Linked DNA regions of Homo sapiens: regions 1 and 3 are each linked to region 2. Evidence: promoter capture Hi-C in 16 types of primary human blood cells and fetal thymus (Javierre and others, 2016). All regions are on one chromosome and are shown on one strand. Each heading gives the region's core, a stretch centred on a gene start or on the middle of the fragment in contact. The rest is flanking DNA. Distances are from core to core; before and after follow the strand shown. Region 1 overlaps LOC105371446 (a long non-coding RNA gene). Region 2 holds the start of LCE1F (late cornified envelope 1F). Region 3 has its middle 15 kb from the start of LCE3A.

Region 1 (2,700 bases), core at 31-2,530, 240 kb after region 2:
AATACATGGTCTTTTGTGACTGCTTTCTTTCACTTAGAATAAAGTTTTCAAGGCTCATTTGTGTTCTGGTATTAATCAGTTCTTCATGTCTTTTTAAAAATATTTTGTTGTAATAAAATATACATAACATTTATCATTTTAACCATTTTAAATATATAGTTCAGTGATATTAATTACACTCGTATTGCTATGTAATCATCACCACCATCCATCTCCATAACTCTTTTCATCTTGTAAAACTGAAATGTTATACCCATAAAAATAACAACCCATTTTCTCCTTTCCCCAGGCCCTGGCAACCACTACTCTATTTTATGTCTCCAGGATTTTGACTATTCTATGTACCTCATGTAAGTGGAATAATAGAGTATTTATCTTTTAATGACAAGCTTATTTCACTTAGAATAATATCCTCAAGATTCATCTATGTCATAGCATATGTAAGAATTTCCTTCCTTTTTAAGGCCAAATGATATTCCACCATAGGTATATGCCACATTTGTCTTATTCATACTTCCATTAATGAACACCTGCGTTGCTTCCGCATTTAAGCTATTATGAATAATACTGCTATGAACATGGGTATATAAATATCTCTTCATGTCCCTGCTTTCAATTCATTGAAGTATATACCCAGATATGGAATTTATAGTTCATATTGTAACTCTAGTTTTAATTTTTTAAGAAAAGGTCATACTGTTTTCCAGAGCAGCTGTACCATTTTAAACTACTACCAACAGTGCACAAAGGTTCCAAATTCTCCACGTCCTCACCAACACTTTCTATTTTCTGGCATTTTGATGGTAGCCATCCTAATGGATATGAGGTGGTATCTCATTGTAGTTTTGATTTACATTTCTCTAATGGTTAGTGATGTTCAGTATCTTTTCATGTTCTTATTGGCCATGGTATACCTTGGCCAATGTTTTCTGAACTTATTTAAATAAATGCTTAGGCAAGTTATTTACCTAGTTTTCCTATTTTTTTAATTGGGACATTTGGTTTTGTTGGTTGTTGAGTTTCAGGACTTCTCTATGCCTTTTGGATATTAATCCCATACGATATATATGACTTGCAAATATATTTTCCCATTCAGTGAGTTCCCTTTTTCAGTGTTGAAGACATTCTTTTAGTATACATTACTTTTTAATTTACTAAGTCCAATTTATCTATTATTTGTTGTTGTCTCTACCTTTGGTGTCATATCCAAAAAAATCATTGCTAAATTCAGTGTTGTAAAGTTTTTACCCTATGTTTTCTTTGAAGAGCTTTATAGTTTCAGGTCTTACATTTAGGTCATGAATCCACCTTGAGTTTAATTTTTATATGCGGTCTTAGGCAAGAGTCCAACCTTATTCTTTTGCATGTGGATATCCAGTTTTCCCAGCACCATTTGTTGAAAAGGCTGTCCTTTCAAAAATAACTGTATCATGTATTTGATAGTTTATTTCTGGGCTCTCAGTTGTATTCTACTGGTTTAAATGTCTGTATTCATGCCAATACCACACTTTTGATTATTAGAGATTCATAGTAAGTTTTGAAATTAACAGGTGTGACTCTTTCTGCTTTGCTCTTATTTTTCAAGATTCTTTTGGCTATTCAGGATCCCTTGAGATTCCAGATGGATTTTAGGATGGGTTTTCATATTTCTACAATAAACATCATTGGGATTTTGATAGAGATTACACTGAATCTGTAGATCGCTTTGGGTAGCATTGACATCTTAACAATGTTAAGTCTTCCAGGTCATGAACACAGATGTCTTTCCATTTATTTTATGTCTTCTTTAATTTATTTCAACAATGTTTTATAGTTTATTGTAAAGTCTATAACTACCTCTGTTAATTCCTAAGTATGTTATTCTTTTTCATTCCATTATAAATAAAATTTTTTCTTAATTTTCTTTCAGATTTTTTATTATTAGTACATAGAGACATAATTGATTTCTGTGCATTGACCTTGTATCCTGCTATAATGTGTTATTAGTTCTAACAACTTTTTATAGAATCTTCCGGTCATATCATCTATTAATAGAGATAATTTTACTTCTTTTCCAATTTGGATACCTTTTGTTTTTTCTCCTGTCTAATTACTCTGGCTAAAATGTCCAGGACTACATTGAGTAGAAGTGGCAAAAGAAGACATCCTTGCCTTTTCTTCATCTTAAGGAAAAAGCTTTCAGTCTTTCACCATTGAGTGTGATGTTGGCTGTGGTTTTTTCACATGACTTTTAGAATGTTGAAAGTTTTCTTCTATTCTTAGTTTGTTGGGTGTTTTTATAATAAAAGAATGTCAAATTTTGTCCAATGCTTTCTTTGCATCAGTTGAGATGATTATGTGATGCTTTTCTTTGTTATTTTAATGTGATATATTATAATGGTCAATTTTCATATGTTGAACCATTCTTGCATTCAGGAATAAATCCCACTTGGTCATGGCATATAGTCCTTTTAATATACTGCTGAATTCAACTTGTTAACATTTGTTAAAGATATTTGCATCAATGTTCTTAAGAGATATTGGTCTGTAGTTTTCTTTTCTGTCAGTGTCTATATCTGCGCTTGGCGTCGAGATAATGGTGACTTCATAAAATGAGTTAGAAAGTGTTCCCTCCTCTTTAATTTTTTGAAAAGTTTGAAATAGATCGCTGTGAATTCTTCCTAAAGTTTTTGATAGAATTCCCCAGTGAAGCATCAAGTC
Region 2 (2,700 bases), core at 74-2,573:
GTCACTGATCATCTGTTCATTTTTTTAATATTTTTCCCTTTCTTCAGTTCAGTTTGAACAATTTCTTCAAGTTCACCGATCTGTTCTTCTGCAACTTATAATCTGCTAAAACCATCCAATAATTCTTTGATGTTATATGTAATTTTGACCATATTTATTTTTCAAATATTGGTTTTTTATTGTTAGATTTTGCATTTGGTTAGTTTTGAGCATGGGAAACTGGGAAATTAAACCCAGGAAATGTGTATTGCAACAAAGCCAATAATTTCAAATTAAATATTGACTATGTCTATTCTTGTCTATACCAACTACACCACTCCAAGTCACAGTTCAAAGCCACCTCATTGGCTGTTCTCTTCTCTTCACCCTTCTCATCTTTATTTTACCTCATCCCTTCAGCTTTTCCTCAGGAAACTGCAAATTCTTTTATGCTATAATTTGGGGCAATATACATCCTTTAGTCCTCTTTTCTTATACCCACTCTGGATCTACCTTCAGAAAGCCCTATTCACTGAGGTACGTAGGAGGAAAAAAAAATGGCCTTTAGTTTTAATAAGAGCCACCTAACTTAAAAGGCACCTGTGACTTTAAAAATTCCCAATGTCCATTAAAATCTCAGGTTTGCCTCTATTTTTCTTTCTATCTATCTATCTATCTATCTATCTATCTATCTATCTACCTATTCATCCATTTCCTAATTATAACCACATGCCACATACTATCTCAGCTACTTCCCCTTTGTTATCTTAATTAATTTGTAAATCCTGCAGAAAAGATATTTCTCTTATTATCTTCATTTAAAACATCAGAAAGCCAATGGCCAAAAATATTGAATACTTTGCCAGGGTCTCCAAGGCCTCTTTTCTCGACTTCTATGATGCACACACATGCCCATGTGCACATGGACAAACCCCATAATGCAGGCATGTGGATTTTTAACCAAGCTATATGGACCCAAAGGTCTAGATGGAAAATTAGTATCTAGAATAGAAGGAAAAATGAGTTGTTTGTGCAGAATTCATAAGTGTGACTACAAGACTGTGAAGAGAGCCATCTTCATAGGAAATAGGCCACGGAGGACTCCAGGAACCATGATGTCCATTTTCACCCACCACAAGCCCCCATTTCCACCAAGCTCTTTCCTAGCTGACAGCAGCTCCCCTGAACACCAATGAAGGACGGTATATGCAGAACTGCCAGTCACCACTCGTCACAAGACCTATGTGGGTGTCGGGAGGCAGGTCCTCTCATGCCCAGGCTCTGTCTCACCGCTGGAGGCAGCACCCAAGGACAGAATAAAAGGGCTCAGGGCCAGAGCATCCCATCCACTCACCTCCTGCGGTGCTGAAGAACCCTGTGCTGCCTGTGATCCTGGTAAGTGTGCCCTGGAAAAAGGAGCAGGGGCTTCCACAGAGGGATGCCCAGGCCAGGGAAGGAGGGGATGGATACTCAGACCAGGGCAGGAGTAGAGTCTAGGCAGGGCCTCAGGGGCCTGGAATTGTGATTGGCAAGGAATGGGGTGGGGGCAGAAAATTGGAAAGAGGAGGTAGAGGGGTGGGGTGGAGTGAGAGAGATTAAGAAGAACTGGTAAGATCTGAAGGGCTGTATGACACAGATTTAGAGGAACCAAATTGTTTTCAGTTGCTCAGTGTGTTTCTCTGGTTTTAGAGAATAAACACATTGGCCACTGGATGTTGCTAGAGTGGGCTGCATAGTGGGAATATAATTTTGGAAATACAGACATACTCACTTTTAGAAAAGATATGCTGAGAACACTGCTACTTAGAGGAAGAAAGGATCAAAGACACCTGTGGATCTTGTTAGATGCCAACAAGAAGATCTGTAGTGGAAAACTGAGTGCACACTGGAGTTTAAAAGCCATGTGACAGTGCCTGGGGACAGGCCTGGGGAGGCAGGATGTGCTAAAGGGCAGAGCCCAGGATGGGAACCAGGGGACCCCGGAACAAATGTGACTGTTAATGAATAACTTTGGGCCAGTGAAGTTACCTCTTTTGGCTTCAGTTTCTTTATTTATATATTGAGTTGGTTGGAACAAATTGACTCCAACATCCTTTGCGGTTATAGTTTTCTCTATTTCTGCAAACTGAAATATATCAGTTCTTCCAATAGAAATTTATTTTGATTTTTCCTTAAAGAGATTTTCATCTCTAAACTGGTCTCAACATTGAACATTTTCAGAATTCTTGGTGATGTGATAGAATGAATGCTGGCCCGGAGCCAATTTATTTCCTGGACTTCTCTCCCACACTTAGGAGCTTTTAATGAGCAGAAACTTTATTTACATATTTGGAGATTATATATTGCATGACAACATCTCAAATAAGGTTTGAAATGAGAATCCATGAATGAAAGCACTTGGTAAACATTGAGAGTGATAAAAACATTAGAGGTGATTTTCCTATGTTTGATATAAGGCTTTCAAAATGAAGGATCTAGAAATAATGCAGAAAGGACAAGAATAGGCAGGGGTGTCCTCTGCCTCCATCTAACTTGCTGTCTGACCCTCCTTCAGCTCCTGAACACCCGCCACCGAGATGTCTTGCCAGCAGAGCCAGCAGCAGTGCCAGCCCCCTCCCAAGTGCACTCCCAAGTGCCCTCCCAAGTGCCCCACACCGAAGTGCCCCCCAAAGTGTCCCCCTAAGTGCCCTCCTGTCTCTTCCTGCTGCAGCGTCAGCTCCG
Region 3 (2,700 bases), core at 129-2,628, 140 kb before region 2:
CACAAAAATTAGCTGGGTGTGGTGGTGTGTGCCTGTAGTCCCAGCTACTTGGGAGGCTGAGGCAGGAGAATCGTTTGAGCCTGGGAAGCAGAGGTTGCAGTGAGCCAAGATCGCACCGCTACACTCCAGCTTGGGAGACAGAGCAAGACTCTGTCCCAAAAATAAAAGCAGCCTGCAATTCTGCAAAGAGACTGAAGCCAGGCTTTGAATGATCTTAGCCCCTGATCAGATTGGTATTACCTGGGAGTGTTAGTGCTCCCAGCCTAGATGCTTGCTAGAAAGAAAATAAAATCGACATTTAGAGACTAAATGACTTCTATAAATTTTTCATATAGAGCTCTACAATTAATGAAAAAAAACCAAATATATTTTTAAAAATTTGACTAGAAAAAGTAAGAGAAAACAAGCAATGCAAACAGACCAGAGGATATCTAGCTAGTATAGTTATGAGATACATATTTGAAAATATCTATGATTAGTATGCTGAATAAATTAAAAGGCAAGGTGGAAAACTTGCACAGGGATCTACAAATTCCAAAAGGTAACAACATGGAAGTCTAGACCTGAAAAATTAATAACCAAAATTAAGAACTCAGTAGAGAGGTTAAATAACAGACAGCACAACAGAAGAGATAATTAGCAACTGTTAGATTGGACAGAAGAAAATATTGAAGCAAGGGAAGACAAACAACCAGAAAATAAAAAAAAAATACAAAATATATATGGACTATAGTGAAAAGTTCTAATATCTAGATAATAATACTTGGAATCCCAGAAGAAGAGAGAGAACAGAAATAAGCAGTACATGAAGAAATAATCACTCTGAATTTTGACATACTGACAAAAGATATCAAACCACAGTTCCAAGAATGATTAGGCATCCCATGCACAAACTTCTTCTACTATTAGTGCTTGGGGATCCACCTGAGGCCTGGTGTTTCTTGCACTCCTTCTTGTCAAGCTCTGAACTCCTTCCTGGTGAGATGCTAAAATCTTGATTTGGCCTCTCAGCTTCTTAGCCACCACTTTCACTTTCAGCATTCACAAATGGCTGCAGGGAATACATGTCCCAAATATCTGACCCACCCTGCTTGAAGACCCTCTGTTTCCACGTCTTGACATCATCTGTTTTCACTGCCTTGGAATAGGCTTGCAAGATAAAATATAAGATGGCCAGTTAAATTTAAACAATGGATAACCAGCGAATACATTTTTAGTGTAAGTATATACTATGTAGTATTGGAGATTTATACTAAAAAGTTATTGTTTATCTGAAATTTACATTTAATTGGGTGTCTTGTATTTTTATTTGCTAAATCCAGAAATCTACCTTAGTCCCTCTTCTCGGTCTTCAAAGGAGTTTAGAAACATATTGTCCACATATTTTAGCTGTTCTTATTGGGAAGCTAAAACAACATAGTTGGCTATTGCTGGGAGAGAAATTCCTGAGTTTTAAAAGATAACTTAATTGAAGTATTACATGCATAAAGCAAAGCACACAATCATTGTATACAGCCTGATGCTTTTTCAAAAAGGTAACACACTTACATAACAACACCCAGATCAACAGAGAAATGATTACCAGCATCTTAGAAGCTCTCCTTACTCCCCTTTCGAGTTACCGTTATTCCCATCCACACCAAAGGTAACTGTTATCCTGATTTTTAACAGTATGGATTAATTTTGCTTGTTTTCAAACTTTATAGAAATGAAACCATATGCTAAGTGCTCTTTTGCATCTGGTTTCTTTGCTCAGCATTATGTTTATGAGACTCATCCATAGTATTGTGTGAAGTTATAGTTTGTCAATTTTCATAGTGATATAGTATTTAATTGGGTAAGCATTCCACACTTAATTCTCTGATTAAAGGACATTTGGTTAGGTTTCAGTTTTTTGTTTGTTACAAGTAGTTCTGCCATGACCATTCTTATATATGCCTTCGGTACATATACGTGTGGATTTTGGAGGATTATATTTGGGGAATAGGTCACAAGTTGTGCATATGCTCAGTTTTACTAGATACTACCAAGTAATTTTTTAAAAAGTCTGTATGAGAGTTATTGCTCTGTATTCTTGGAAGTCCTTGGCATCATTTGTGTCATCATGTTACCCATTCTTAGTGTTTGTCTCAATGGCAGTGAAAGTCTGCCTCGTGTCTGTGATGGGTCTTGGGCAGCAGAGAGGTGGTGTAGGCTGTTATCATTGAGAAGGTACTCTTATTAACCAGCTCCCTTCAGTCCTACATAGACTATCTTGGGTTATCTTACTATATACTCCCACAGTCCACATTTTGTAGTAATTTCTTGCATAATTGGCTGCTTTAGCCATGAGTTTATTACCTCCATGAGGATAGAGACTAAAATTGTTTTGTTTTTCTGCTATAGTTTAAATGTCCCCTCCAACACTCATGTTGCAATTTGGTTGCCATTGTAACAGTGTTGAAAATTTGGGCCTTTCAGAGGTGATTGGGCCATGAGGGCTCCACCATCATGAGTGGATTAGTGCTGTTGTCATGGGAGTGGGCTAGTTGTTGCAGGAGTGGGTTCCTGATAAAGGAATAAATTCAGTCCCCATTTTCTCTCTGTCTCATATATTCACTTGGCCTTCTGCCTTCTGCCTTCTGCCACAGAATAACCCTTACCAGATACTAGCACCATGCTCTTGGACTTCCCAGCCTCCAGAACTGTAAGCCAAATAAA

The links. The method cuts DNA at HindIII sites, captures the fragments that hold promoters and counts their contacts. A CHiCAGO score of 5 or more calls a contact.
Region 1: a contact is called between a fragment that was not itself captured here and the fragment with the promoter of LCE1F in region 2, in 1 of 17 cell types (M2 macrophages). The highest score is 5.2, in M2 macrophages.
Region 3: a fragment that was not itself captured here is called in contact with the fragment with the promoter of LCE1F in region 2 in 1 of 17 cell types (M2 macrophages); the score reaches 5.5 in M2 macrophages.

The regions. Positions count from the first base shown.
Region 1 is chr1:153,013,446-153,016,145 of GRCh38, forward strand. LOC105371446 (a long non-coding RNA gene) reads left to right here. Exons shown (of 3, transcript XR_922151.2): 2 at 290-350. Among named protein-coding and RNA genes, the nearest start is that of SPRR3, 13 kb to the left of the region's middle. The HindIII fragment of the contact is 1,786 bases long and covers 388-2,173 here.
Region 2 is chr1:152,773,817-152,776,516 of GRCh38, forward strand. LCE1F (late cornified envelope 1F) reads left to right here and starts at 1,324. Exons shown (of 2, transcript NM_178354.3): 1 at 1,324-1,374; 2 at 2,534-2,700. The coding sequence starts at 2,556. The HindIII fragment of the contact is 9,364 bases long and covers 1-2,700 here.
Region 3 is chr1:152,636,364-152,639,063 of GRCh38, forward strand. No RefSeq gene overlaps it. Among named protein-coding and RNA genes, the nearest start is that of LCE3A, 15 kb to the left of the region's middle. The HindIII fragment of the contact is 4,038 bases long and covers 1-2,700 here.